Linked DNA regions of Homo sapiens: region 1 is linked to region 2. Evidence: promoter capture Hi-C in 16 types of primary human blood cells and fetal thymus (Javierre and others, 2016). All regions are on one chromosome and are shown on one strand. The core of a region is centred on a gene start or on the middle of the fragment in contact, and the rest is flanking DNA. Distances in the headings are between cores, read along the strand shown. Region 1 overlaps SETBP1 (SET binding protein 1). Region 2 holds the start of SETBP1-DT (SETBP1 divergent transcript).

Region 1 (6,859 bases), core at 2,483-4,982, 280 kb before region 2:
TTGAAGGCAAAAACATTGAGTTACTCATCTTTGATTTCTTTCTGGGATTGCAACAAGCCTTATACATACTAGGCATTAAATAAATCATTAAAAAATGTTGTCTTGTCCTTATCATTTTCCCTTGAATTCAGACAACTTGGATTAAGTGCTATACTGGCTCAAGCCTAGGCCACAATTTTAAAAGTATTCATCACTTGTTCTTTTTATAGAGTAAGGAGATGGTTTTCTGGAGTTTCCTTCCAAAGGTGCCTTGCTTATCTCTGCCCAGTGACAGCCTTCCAAAGGCATGCTTCCTGATTTCTCCAGCCAAGAAAGGATCCATATTATAGCAAAGCCAAGTCTGTCAAAATTGTAACTTCTCTGCACCCACACCTGAATCTGCATAATTTCCCAATCCCACAGAGGTAAAAATAAAAACTTTCACCAGGACACGAGAACATTTGCCAACTGTGGGAAGATAAATGGCTCGGGGACTTCAAACTCCAAAGGCAGAATTGCTCCATTTCTGATTTCAATGTAGCAAAGGATATGCTGTGAGTCTCAGCTATTTTTTTTTGTTACGTTGCTACAAAGTTATGGGTTATATCATTTAATTTGATTAATTCTTGGTTTCCAAAAGGAAACCTTAGGAGGAAACTTGGGAGGCTCAATAAAATAAGTATGTGCAATTGTTAAGACAGGAAAGGAAAAAAAAATGACTTCCATCAGAGCCCACAAAGATCATTTCCAGTCCCAGACATGGGTCCCCAGAGATAGCCTGGAAACCAAATGATTGTCAAAGAGATGCTTACCTTTTACAACAGCTCACAGCAAAGGAAAACATATAGCTTAACATCTCTCCCATGACTCACCTTTCTGTTTTTTTCTTGTATTCACTCTCTCTCTCCCTTTCCCTGCCCTTCTCCTTGATGTGAAGCTTCCCAGTCTGAGCTCTTCACCCAATTAAATATGTATCATTAGATGAGTCACTTGACCTTCTTAAGCCTCAGTGTGCTCATCAGCAAAATGAGATGTTTGTACTACATTATTAAGATTTATTTAATGCTGAGTCTAAATACAAATCCAAGTGTGCCCTGTCTGTTCCCATAAAAATGTTCATATTTGTGTTCTAACCTATTTGTGTCTCAGATAGTGACTATGTTTTCAGCCAGTGGGACTCAAGCACTAGGAGTTCTACCTTTCGCAAAGGAGAAATCCAATGGCTAAGTGAAATGGCTGGAGCTAAAGATGAATGGGATGAGTCTCATAGATTAATATACAACCAGTGGTACCTGTTTTCAAACTTCATTGAACAACTAACTATTTGGTCAACATGGTCAATAACTTGGATATTTACTTTGTAACTACTGCCTGTACATGTGTGCAGGGGAGTGGTGTAGATATTGAAATTCCATTGTATAAATTTGAGTCTTTTAGAATCTTCAACTATTAGGTCTGGTCAGAACCTTTATGGTCATAGTCCCATTTTGGAAAACTGAAAGTCAAAAAACAGAAGAGGTCTTTCAGCTGGTTAGTGTGAGAGATAAGATTTGGACAGGTCTTCCTAACCCTACTTGAACTCCACAACAGCCATTAGCTAATTAATCTTTCATTTCCTCCCACAAGAGGACTCAGAATTGGACTTGGAATAAGGTTAAAAAGATTATATTTCATCAGCTTCCCAGGTTTTACTCTCTTTATTCCTGGTCTTAATTTTCTCCTCCCATTAGTCCTCTTCTTCCTTTTATTCCATTTTAAGGAAATGATCCTGAAACATTTCCTTTGTATAGTTTTCATGACATTTCATCCACGTGGCTAATTCCCTCATCTGGGTGACTGCTTGGAGGAGGTTTTTGTATTATTTTTGGCTTGGGCATTCATATCCTGCCAGTGAGTGACAGCAGAGACTGCCTCCTCAAATTTCCACAGTGCTGATAAGAGGAGTTGGCAAAGGGCAAGAAAGAAGCTACAAGGAGAGGTGGAGGGGGCCAGGTGCCAGGGAATCCAGCTACCTACATGGCAGAATTTGGATATCTGAAATGTGCTCTCAGAATCAGTTCTCAGAATCCACTCATCATGAGGACAGTACTCAACATTCGGGGACTTGGGATGGCTACCTTCTTAACAATGGCACTAAACTAAGAGGTAACACATGTAGATTCACTCTTCTCATTTTTTTTTTTTAATTATCTGATAGGAGCTTGAACAGCAGTTGTCATGAGGTCTCAGTATCTGGCATAAGTTTAGGTCAAAGTATGCAAAGATTGTTTCCAAGTGGTCTGAATAGAAAATGTCACTCATCACTCTTCCACCACCTTGTGAAAACTTGGCTTTGAGGGCACATGGCATCATTCTGACTATGCATTGTCACCCCTGGAGTATGCATTTGCTCTTCTGGCCCTCTGCTAAATGTTAGTGTGCAAGAGAAGGCAATGCCTGCCGACAGACAGGCCCAAATAGGAGCTGATAAGGCTTATACCAATTCTGAGATTGCACCTTCTCACTATTTATCCATTTTCTGGTCCCAGGCAAGCATTTTTATAAACGGACATTTAGCAGATGGTATGCATTTAGAAAACAGGCCAAAAGAGCTACTGCATTCTGAAACCAAAAAAAGGAGGCGTAAAATACAGAAAAATGGTCAGAAGTCTGTACTGCATCCTAGCCCTAGGTATGTTAGAAGTGGGCTAACAAGACAATGCAACCATCTGCTGGGCAGGGAGAGAAAGAATGAAAGATTTTCCAAGCAAGAAAAAGGAAATGGAGTGTGCAACTGCTGCTATTGCTAAATAGGGTCTCTAATTCCTCTCTCCATAATGGTAATGACTTACGTTTAGATGGTATCTTTCATCAGCTCTGATCTCAGGGAGCACTCAAAGCCTTCTCTTGACTCTGCTTCTAATTCTCATCCTCAACAGGCTAAAAAGGATGACATCTATATTTATACTGTATCTATTTTAGAGAAGAATAGCTCATGTGAAATAGGACATTTGGATGCTAAGGAAATGAATCAAGTGTGATGAAGGAAAAGGTGGAGGGAGAGAAGTTGTAGAAAGTGCAGGTGCTTATTTCCAATCATGACCCTCAGAACCATCCAGCTGAATAGACACCTCCACTCAGATAAAGTCACTGAAAGCTCTTAATGCATCTAGTAAGCTCAGCTTCATCTCATCTGCCTCCTGTCTTTTCATGGAACTTGGCACTCTTCAGAGTCTATCACATTAAGGTGAATGCTCTTCAGGGAGTCTTGACAAACTCTGACACTGGATTCTATGTGATGCTAAAGATATTTTTCTCTCATGCTTTGGGGGCACAGCCATGAAGGAGACATTCGAGATATAAGCAATGAGAGGCTAAGGCTTGGAAGGGAGGGGAATAAGGGGGAATCTGGTCTGTCTTAGTAAGAAACTTAACAAGATATGCAGGAACATCAGGCATAGCTCATATAGATGTAGCAGCCACCAACAATTATGATTCATTAAAGTTCTGGGAAAAAATAACCTCATAGAGGACAGAGATAGAAACAAAGCAGTGGCAAAAATAACTCAGAGTGCTGGATTTCAGTAAGGACAGAGGTGGAAGCTCTGTCCATGGTGTCTCCAGGCTGATATTCAGAAAAGGTAAGGCCACAAGGATTCCTTCTACATTGGTCAGGAATTGAATAAACGAGTGTCTTCTTTCCTTAACTATTCTCTTTTGTAATCATCACACAATCACTGTGCAGATGCCTTAGGGAAGGGTATGTGATCTGAGGATGAATGGGATTCTGAAAGAAAGGGCAGAGGTGACATAGAGGAGCACTGGACTGGGCACCAAGAGCTGTGTTCTAAACACAGCTTTCACTAGCTTGGTGGCAGGCAGGCAGTCAAGGTTCAGTGCAGCAGGCAAAGTTCTGGGCTTAGAATCAAAACCAGTGGTTTTTTGAACCTGGACAGTTCTCTTGATCTCTTTGAGCCTCAGTATCCTGATCTGTAATATAGGAATAAAAGTACCTGTCTAATAACATTGCACAAAGGGTGTTACACAAAAATTTATGTGAAATGGCTTTAAGAATGGAAGCACACTATACACAAGAGGTCTGGCCCAACCCCATGAGTTACAGATGGGCAGACAGTACCCCAAAGAAGTGGAATCCCATGCCTAAGGGCACACGGAGAATTAGTAACAGAGTTGGGCCTTGTATCCAGTTCTTCGGGTTGAATCCAGCTTTCTTTCATGACATTGTCATGACACCTATTTCTTCCCATCTCAAGTGGCTGGCTGAAGATGAGATGAGATGGGACAGGGATGAGGAGGAGTTTTAATAAAGTGATGAATGCGATATAAATGCAAGCACATGAAAAGCAATATAACTAGAGTGGGGGCACACAGTGACTGGACGTGAACCCCAGCTGGGAAATTTTATGAAGTCAACCAGCACTCAGCAACACAGCCTGGCCACAGACAAATCCTCGTAAAATCGTTGAGAAACCTAACATGCAACAACGTCTGGTTTTAGCTTCTTGAGGTCTTGCTCCTTGGGTCTGTTAAGTTAGGATTTTTGCGTGTAGGTTCTTAACAATTACCCCTCACCATTATTTTCTAGCTAAATAAGGCTCATAAAATTACAAAAATAAGAACATCTTCTGTCCACAGCTAGTGTAAGTCCCATGAATCAGTTTCATCATGCTGAAAGAGATCAGTTTCTCACATGTCATGCAAGGTCAAGGTAGTACCTCCTGCCCAGGTGGGCTTAGCCTGCACTCTGCATAAAACCAAGCACCTTCAACAAAGTCTGATGATGAGAAATGATGAAGCCCAGATGAGCACATCCACTTTGGGCAGACACAAAGTGTAGGTCATTTATTACCTTTAGTAAATGCAGGAGATGTGACTGCTAATTGGTTTCTTCATTAACCAAGGAGAACATCTACCACTACAACTCACAGGCTAGTGGCAATCTGGGGCGATCTTTAAGTGGTTTCTACCTCATAATCATATTTCTTCCTGAAATCTGCTGGCCTAGAAAATGTCTCTAATTCTTCATGAATAGACTATTCTTGCCTTCAGGAAATATGGGCTCCCTGGGAAGGGAGAGGACAGGTGAGTGGTACACATCATAAACAGAAGTGAAATGCTACACCAAACCTTAAACATGGATGATTGGTTTTTAAAGCCAGGCTTTGGCTGGAGGGTTTTATACTATTTGGGAACAGGGGGAACACAAGAACTGTTTTTTTTTTTTTTTTTTTTTTTTTAGCTTCTGCAACTCCTAGGTAAGAAGTTTCTACTATTTTCCTAATAACTAACTTCTCTGGTCTTTATAGGGGTCTTATCATATATGATGTAAGGCCAGGGTCAAAGGGATACTTTTGCAGAAATGTGAGGCCCTAACAGCAGGGAAGGATTTTGTGTGGTTGGGGAGGTTGGCAAGGGAATTCTGCCAGCAACTGACAAGGAATAGGATCCTTCTAGTAGCAACCAGCATTTCAGTTTAAATTAGTGAGCAAAATCCCTTTCTAGTGGGCATGCAAAGAGACACAGTTATAAGGTCTGCTGGAAGCAGGAGGCACATATCACCTTCCAGCCTGCCTCCTTCCACTTAGTGCACGAAAATGACAAGTATCTGAATGTAGTCAAGTTTTCATTTTAGGGACCTGCCCAGGACAGCTTATCAAATGCCCATGGAAAAAAAATGGAAACAATATGGCCCAAGGCTGTGGCTACCTGATGAGTTAGACTTCAGGATTCACTGGTCATCAGCTTCTAATGGCTCTGCAGTAGACTTCTCACATTAGATGTGTGACTTGTGGAGCTGGCATGCCAGATAAATTAGCTAGTCATTTCCTCCCAGGCTTGGCATTCTTGGATCTTATTAGTATTCCTAATGAGTTTTAGAGGCTGTATCCAAACAGCAAACTGTACCATTAGATCAGATGAGGACCTAAGAACAGCATCTTTAATAAAAAGCATAACCATAGTGGGCACGACTGCAGCCTAGGCAGCTATTAGGGTTATGGCTTCACAGTTTCTCAAACAATGGCTCCAGGAGAGAAGGAAGATAGTAAATACCAAGTAAACAATGTACAAAATGTGCAGCAAACTCAAATGTGCAAGGAGACCCATTTTAATTTGATTCCCACCTCTTTGCAAACTAGTGAACACAATGTGCCACAGATGTGTCTGAGGTGCAAAGCCCAGCAATGAAATAACTTGATAATCCATTTCTGAAGAAAAACAGCCTTACCTGGAGACATGGAGGAGTCATAAGAACTTCTCTCCTTGCGGTTCATCTTGAAGGCTTGGATGTCCTTTTCCCTGTACGTTCCAAAGCCTTCATAGCTCCTCCTTTTACTCCCACTCACGTCACTGTCCCACTTGTCATTCGAAGGGTTCATTTCACTGAACACGTCCAGGTTCTCTGATCTCGTGCTGCCACCATCCCCGCCACTGCCAGAGTATCTTTTCGTGCATGAGTCCACAGGCTCACTGCTCAAGTCTCCTTTTTCCTTGGCCTGTGTCCAATGCTGGGCGTCGGAAAGTGACAGTGTAGACAGGGTGTCCACCTCAAAGTTGTTCTTAGAAGCTTTGTGGCCGGCTTCGCTGTGCTGGTGCTTCTGTTTCTCCTTATGCTTGTTCTTCTCACTCACCAGCGGGAGCTCTTTGTCTGCGCTACTCAGCCGCTCGCTCAGGATGTGGCTGGAGAAGCCTGTGGCTTTGCCTGCAAAAAGACCACTCAGGTTGTCATGGGTCCCTAGGATCCGGTCTTCCTTGTGCTTATGCTTGTGTTTGTGTTTCCTCTTATGGAGCCGACCACTGGACAGACTGGCACTGCCTACCTTGGGAGGGTTCAGAGAAGGCTGCATGTCACCAAGGCCCATGCTAACAGGTCCCTGCAGGT
Region 2 (6,485 bases), core at 3,305-5,804:
GTTCGGTAAAAAGGGAAAACGAAAACTCAGAGCTAAGCAAAAATGTAGATTGGCATCATCTTTCTGCATTCACGAATTATAGTCTGTGGACATCCTGGTGTTTTCTTTCCTGCACTTTTCAGGTATATGGCAGGCCAAAGTATGTGCAACTTCATGAAGAGTTTGTAAAACACCTGGGTTGCCTTTAAAAACCACTCTAAAAGAAGCCCAAACTTATGGCCCAAAACATTTTGGGAAACTCACTAGGTTTCAACATATGCCACAGGATAGGAATGGAATTGGATTGTTTTGCTCCCTTCACAGGAACCCCAGGACCAGACAAAATGATGTGCAGCAAGACCTCTGTGAGGCTTCCTTTCTTCAACCCAGTGCTGCTAACCCTCCAGGGCAGCCTCCTGTGCTCCCACCACCAGCCTCTGGTAGGACTCTCACATACACTGAGTCCCTGAACAAACTCAATAACACCATCCCATTTTTAAAGCACTGCAACTCCTCCTTACAATACTAATGTGTTCATAATAATTTGCCCCATTCTTCTGGCAGGAGCAAAACTGAAGCAACTTGAAATGCCATCAGCAAAAAGTTATTTATTTCCCATTCCTGAGCATCAGAGAAAACAGGGTTTCATTGGCTGGATCTGCCTTCAATAGCTTTCTGGTTTCAATTTAAACTTCAAGTCTCCAAGGAAAAAACTGGCATTCTGGGAGGTCCAGGCCCAGCCAAGTTTCAGTGTCTCCACAGGAACCCAGAAAGGATGCCCCATCCAGCTAGCTATTTCTCATCTGCTTCCTTTTGCATACTATATAGAAGCTTTGGAGCAGAGATTGAAGTACAACTAAAAATAATGACCACATTGAGAGAACTCTCCTCTCCTAGAGGTACACTTTTGTGCCAGACAAGTATCGATTCATCCCCTAGAGGAATTCAAAGTTAACAGGAGAAATGGAATCCAGGGGAAAGTACCTACCTATTTATTTCTTCTTCAGCAAAATCCTGCCTCCTGCCTCTCCCCACTCACCATTTTCAACTAAATCCTAAAACACTCCCAAGCACTGTTTCCTTTTTCCCCAACCCTCATTTAGGTCAGGTGATTTACAAAGTAGCTCACTCTGAGCAAGGCAAGTCCATGACCAGAAGCCCTTATGGCAGCAGGGGCTGTTGGGTTAACTTAAAGATACCTCTAGGTTCCCCTGTGTGATGTCCAAAACTGGGCCTTCCAGCAGAGCCTTCCTATGTAACATTCTGATGCTAACATACAAAAGATCAAATTACAGCCCTTCACTTGCCTAGCCCTTTCATGAACATATAAGGCAGTTGATATTTTCTCCCAAGCTAGAAGTGGCCCCCTTCTTAACCGACACTACTGCCTCTCAGACACTCCACCTTATGTTCACTGCAAGCCATCCCCTCCCCCACCTCCAGTTTGTTTATTCCAGAGATACATCTATTTTCCCAGCTAAGAGAGACGAGTCCCTTTCCCTCCTCTGGCTCCCGGTGGTGCATTCGCTCACCACCTCCTCCCCCAGCTCAGCTCAGGTTACTATAGTGGCTAGCAACTCCCACAGCCCAGGTCTAACACCAACTCAACTTCCCAAGACCAATAGTTTGTTTTGGTTTTGGTTTTGTCCCCTTAACGGGGGAGGAGAAATCGTGTGCCAAGCAACACTCTGGGTACCTGGTCTCCATATCTTTGGGGGCTACATTCCCTGCCGTTTGCAAATACTCTGTTTAACCACACTTGATTTCTTCCTCCTCTTCCGACTTTCCCCCAAACACTCTGTCTTAATACCCTTTTCTGGGAACAGGCAATGAGACTAAGCACAGGGGAAAACACAGCACCTCACCTTCACTCTGACACCTGGGAATCCCTCGTCAGAGCAAAAGAGCTCACGCCTCCCTCAGGGAGTTTAAGGATGGTAGAAGCCAGAGAAATCAGAAAAAAAGGGAGGGAGTGACCTGGGATGGTAAACTAGCTACATCTTAAAGTGCTACAAACTTTCTCCTCCCTCACACGCCCCTGTCTGGTTGGCTCCGCCTTCCCATCCCAGCTGGGGTGTGCAAAGGAAACTCTCCCCGGAATGCCCAGGTCTGGTCCAGTGTTGAAGATGTGGCCTGCACACAACACCGCCCTTCCTCTCCAAATACCTCTTCTCTACCCCATCCCCTTTCTCCCACGACACACACATGCTTTGCACGTGAAGATGAGTTTGGATGGGGCACAGGAGATATACCTATTTACTAAAGGAGGGTAAGAGATGGTGCCAAATCGGCAGATAGTTTTGGTGACAGTACAGAGACTTCAAGAAATTAGTTTTTAGTATAAATCTACAGAAAAAGAAGAAAAACAGGATGAAGAGTGAAGGAATGAAAAGAAAAAGAAGGAAAAAGATGTAAGAGAAAAACAATCAACGCCAGTGGACTCCAACTAAACTTTAAGGGGAAAGGTGTGGATAGTTGGCAGGAGGTGGGGGGAGTGTAGGGGCTGGAAGGGAAAGGTATCTGCTGTAGAATTCCAGAATAAACTGCCCTTTTGGAGGAGAGTTTCTGCAGGGATAAAGAGACACACAAATTGCCCTTTTAGCGTTAGATGTCAACCGTGAGATTATCAGGACAGTTTATTTGAAACGGAAACGAATCGGAAATCCTTCCCACAACAGTCCTTTTAGACAGATACACACCCTGAGAATCCAACACAGACACACATAAAGAATAAATGCAGCATTAGGGGGCAATAAGAACTCCCCTTCCACACTCTCAATACCTCTAGCCTCATCTATTTCCAATTGCACAACTTTCAATCTCCAATGAAAATATTTCCAGTTGGATCCGATTTCAGACTTGTAGTAAGCGGTCTGGATGGGGGGGCGGGGGGAATAGGTGCTGTACTGTGCAGGGGAGGGGGGCTGGAAGACAGTATTTCGGCAGTTAACTTATTTTTTTAGAACCAGCATGCTCTACCGATCAGAAATTGCTATTACCCAACAATGCTTCCATCACAAACAGACACTGAAAACAGCATCCCCGTTATCACCATCTTGCCAAAGATCTGCCCGGTCCAGTTTACCTGACTTTGTCCCTGCGGAACTTCTCAGACAGTATTTCGGTCAAAGAGATAATGGTTTGGAAGACAAAAACAATAAATCGATACCGAAGGGTTCCCTTTCCGGAGTGATTTCCCACTGGAAACCACCGAACGGGGAAGCCTGCCGTTCATTCCCAAGCCCACGGCTCCTCTAGAAACGCACACAATGCGTGCTTTCAAAAAGGCATTCGTCTGCTTTTAAGGGAATTCCTATCTTTTCAGAGTCCCAAAACCAGAGAGCACAAGAAAGAGACTCAAATCCATTGATTAAGATTTTTAAGAAAAAGACTAACACACAGGCACAACACAAGCACACACCAACCTTCGCCGGCTGGACCACTTCTTGCCTGTTCTTCTTTCTATTAACGACACGTTAGATTCTGATACATTCCCCCCCCAAAAAAATCCAACTAGGTTACAATGTAGCTCTCTAGCTCCACTTAACCTGCAAGTTACAAAGAGAGAAAAAAAAAATCCTGCCTTCCCACCCCTTTCCTTACCCCCTCCCCCTCCCGAGTCCACTCCACCAACGCCAAACCCGCCAGCCCCGCCAGCCGGCTGCAGGACCGAGGGAGGGTGCAAAAGGCGGGGGGCGGAGGGGGGGTAGATCAGATTAGGCGAAACTCAATAAGCTCCCAGCCCTCCAGCCCAAAGCTTCCACCATCGCCGCCACCAACGAGCCACTCCAATTGAGCCAGCATCGCCGCCCACCCGCCGGCCCGCCGGAATCGCGCCCATCTCCTGCAACCTCGCCCGGACCGGCATCCCGCCCCCTCGGCCCGGTCTCCCCCTTCCCGCCGGGTGCAAAGTCAAAGACCCAGCAAGGCGACGTGAACTTTTGCATGCAGGGCACACACGTCGCCCCCGGTTCCGGGAGTGCGGGGGCCCGCGGCGCGGAGGGAGGCTGGGCGCCCGGGCTCCCGGGCCAAGGTCGCCGCGCGTGCTCACCCATGTCCCGGCGGCTCCGGCTCCGCTGGCCCCGGCGCTCGCTCAGATCCCGGCTCCCGTCGCTCGCCCGAGCCCCCAAAGGTGCTGCTGCGGCAACTCCATGGCGATGAGCATCTGTCAAACGGCGAGCCGCGAGCTGGCCGCCCTAGCTCGGGGGGCGCCGGGGCCCCCGGGCGCGCGGAGGCGGCGGCGAGCGGCGGGCGCCCCGGCCGGCCCCGCGCTTCCCGCCCGACTCTGCCGCCTCCGCCGCGCCACCGATTTATGGAGAGAGATATCAAGGGGGAAAATGGCGTCTCCGGAGCCCGAGGAGTCCTGGAGTAATCACATTCACACACACACGCCCGCACGCACACACACTCGCACACACTGGCACACAGGCGCGCGGCGAGCCCTGCTAATTTTAGCAGGAGCCAAAAAAAATTTTATATATATATATATATATATATATATATATATATCCCCGTCTCTCCGATCAATGCTTTTTCTTTTTTTGCTTTTTTTTTTTTTTTTTTTTTTTTTTTTGCTTTTCTTCAAAGGATGGGTTGGAGCGTTAAAAAATGTTGGTGGGTTTGGGCTCGCAGGAGGCGGCGCGCGGAGGGCGAGGGCGCTTTTGCTGAGCTGTGCAGTTCGGTCCGCTGAGCCCGGCGGCCCTGCCCGCCCGCTCGTCCGCCCGCGGTCGCTAGTGTTGCCGCCGCCGCCGCCGCCGCCGCCGCTGCTGCTCCATGGCCGCGCCCGCCCCGCGCCCCCGCCGCGTCCCGTCGCCGCCCGCCCGCGTCCCCGGTGAGCGCTGGAGTGGGGTCGGGCCCGTGTGCCTGCCTCCCGCGCCCTCTCCGAATCCCGGACTCCTAGTGAAAGGAAGGGGGAGGGCGCGGGCGCGGAAGGGAGGTGGATCGGAGCGGCAGCGCGGCCCAGCCGAACGGGTACCGACCGTCACCCCGCGATCTTCCTCGCAGGGGGCGCCGGCGCCCAAGCTGCTCGCCCGGAGGGCCCAGAGCCGCTTCCCAGACCAGAGCCGGGGGAGGCGCAGCCAGTAGCGAGCCCTGAGCGACCTCTCTCCCCACTCGCCCCCCTGCCCCAGTGAATTTCTGTCAGTTGAAGGGAGCGGGGCTCTTGCCCGGGGAAAAGGAAAACAGTTCGTGGCCTGGGATCTGGGACCCCTTGCCGCCCCCAGCGCCCCTCCCGCTCCCCGGCGCCCTTGCGGCCCAGTGGCTCCTGCGCGCCGGAGTCCGCCGCGAAGACTGAGCGGCCGCGGGGATCGCCGCGGGCTCCGCGCGTATTCCTGGGCTCAACACTGCCACTATCTGACACAACAGGAGCAGTGTCGGGGGGGTACTGCGCGCCCAGACGTGAGCTGTGATAGGCTCTCGAAACTGGGCGCATTTTTTTTTTAACCTGGTAATTATATTTCACTTTCAGGGTTTTTTTAAATTATTATTATTATTTTATTGTTGTTGTTAAGCGACTTGTATGCATTCAGATCTCATGTGCATTTTCTCGTTATTCAAGAGAATTGGACACTTGATGAAGGGAAGGACACGGAGAGATGACAAACGCAGACTGGCATGCAGTTGTTTTCAGGGTGGGAAGAACAAAGTGGAATGTCTTCAGTTCTTACAAAATATGGTGGCATTTGTAATCTCTGAGTTTTTGTATTTGGCCTACAAAGGGGGTCTTTTCAGGGAAACACGAATGGAACCCTTCAGAGACATGTCTACATTGTAAAACAATATAGGATAGATACGGATTCGGGAAGGTCTGCAAATGGTTCCGCTCAAAGAACTTGGGGTAAAGTTGACCGAGGACTCGGATTCTGAGAGGACTCCTATCACGTTCTTCATGAGAGTTTTAGGCTATTTGGACTGAGGAATGATTTGGAGGTACGTCGGGGGCATTCCCTCACTGAGGCCATCAGTGGCTGCCTCCCTGCATTGGCTGCTGGTTTGAGTTCCTTCACAGAACTTCTTCGTCAAGTTTTTCATAGGAACGCTGCAGTGAAGTGGAGTGAAAGAGACTGGGGATTGAAGGGTGAACCCCTTCCAGCCCCAATCCCATCCCGATTCCTGTCTGGATGCAGATTCAGTCTGACTCAGAACGGATAGTTCACCCTTTTACTGATCCAAGTGCTCTGTCCTCTTTTTTTCAGAGGAATGTTCTGACTGGCTACAAACTTTTCTTCTGTCACTGCAGGACCTCCCGTGGAGCAATTTTCGATAGGTCTTCTACTATGCTTTTTTACCGCGTCATTGTTATTGCTGAGAAAATAATGCTTAGTTAGGAAAAAAAATAGCAGAGCATATGAGCTGATGATAGAAGTAGAGATCAAGGCACAGAATACAATATCAAAACAACTATTCTCTGTAATCAAATGACCTTTCTCATTTGCTTGTACACCCAGATTTCTGAAATCCTACACCAAAGTCCACAGAGAACTAAGATAGCATGTGGCCTATTCCCC

What was found. The method cuts DNA at HindIII sites, captures the fragments that hold promoters and counts their contacts. A CHiCAGO score of 5 or more calls a contact.
Region 1: a contact is called between a fragment that was not itself captured here and the fragment with the promoter of SETBP1-DT in region 2, in 1 of 17 cell types (total B cells). The highest score is 5.9, in total B cells.

Annotation. Positions count from the first base shown.
Region 1 is chr18:44,952,687-44,959,545 of GRCh38, reverse strand. SETBP1 (SET binding protein 1) reads right to left here. Exons shown (of 6, transcript NM_015559.3): 4 at 6,206-6,859. Among named protein-coding and RNA genes, the nearest start is that of MIR4319, 14 kb to the left of the region's middle. The HindIII fragment of the contact is 5,628 bases long and covers 919-6,546 here.
Region 2 is chr18:44,677,941-44,684,425 of GRCh38, reverse strand. SETBP1-DT (SETBP1 divergent transcript) reads left to right here and starts at 4,554. Exons shown (of 2, transcript NR_187430.2): 1 at 4,554-4,810; 2 at 5,537-6,485. It overlaps SETBP1 (SET binding protein 1), which reads right to left and starts at 3,538. Exons shown (of 6, transcript NM_015559.3): 1 at 3,405-3,538. RefSeq lists enhancers at 1,403-1,492, 1,543-1,612, 1,723-1,792 and silencers at 3,664-3,713, 3,854-4,103, 4,774-5,413. The HindIII fragment of the contact is 7,071 bases long and covers 3,739-6,485 here.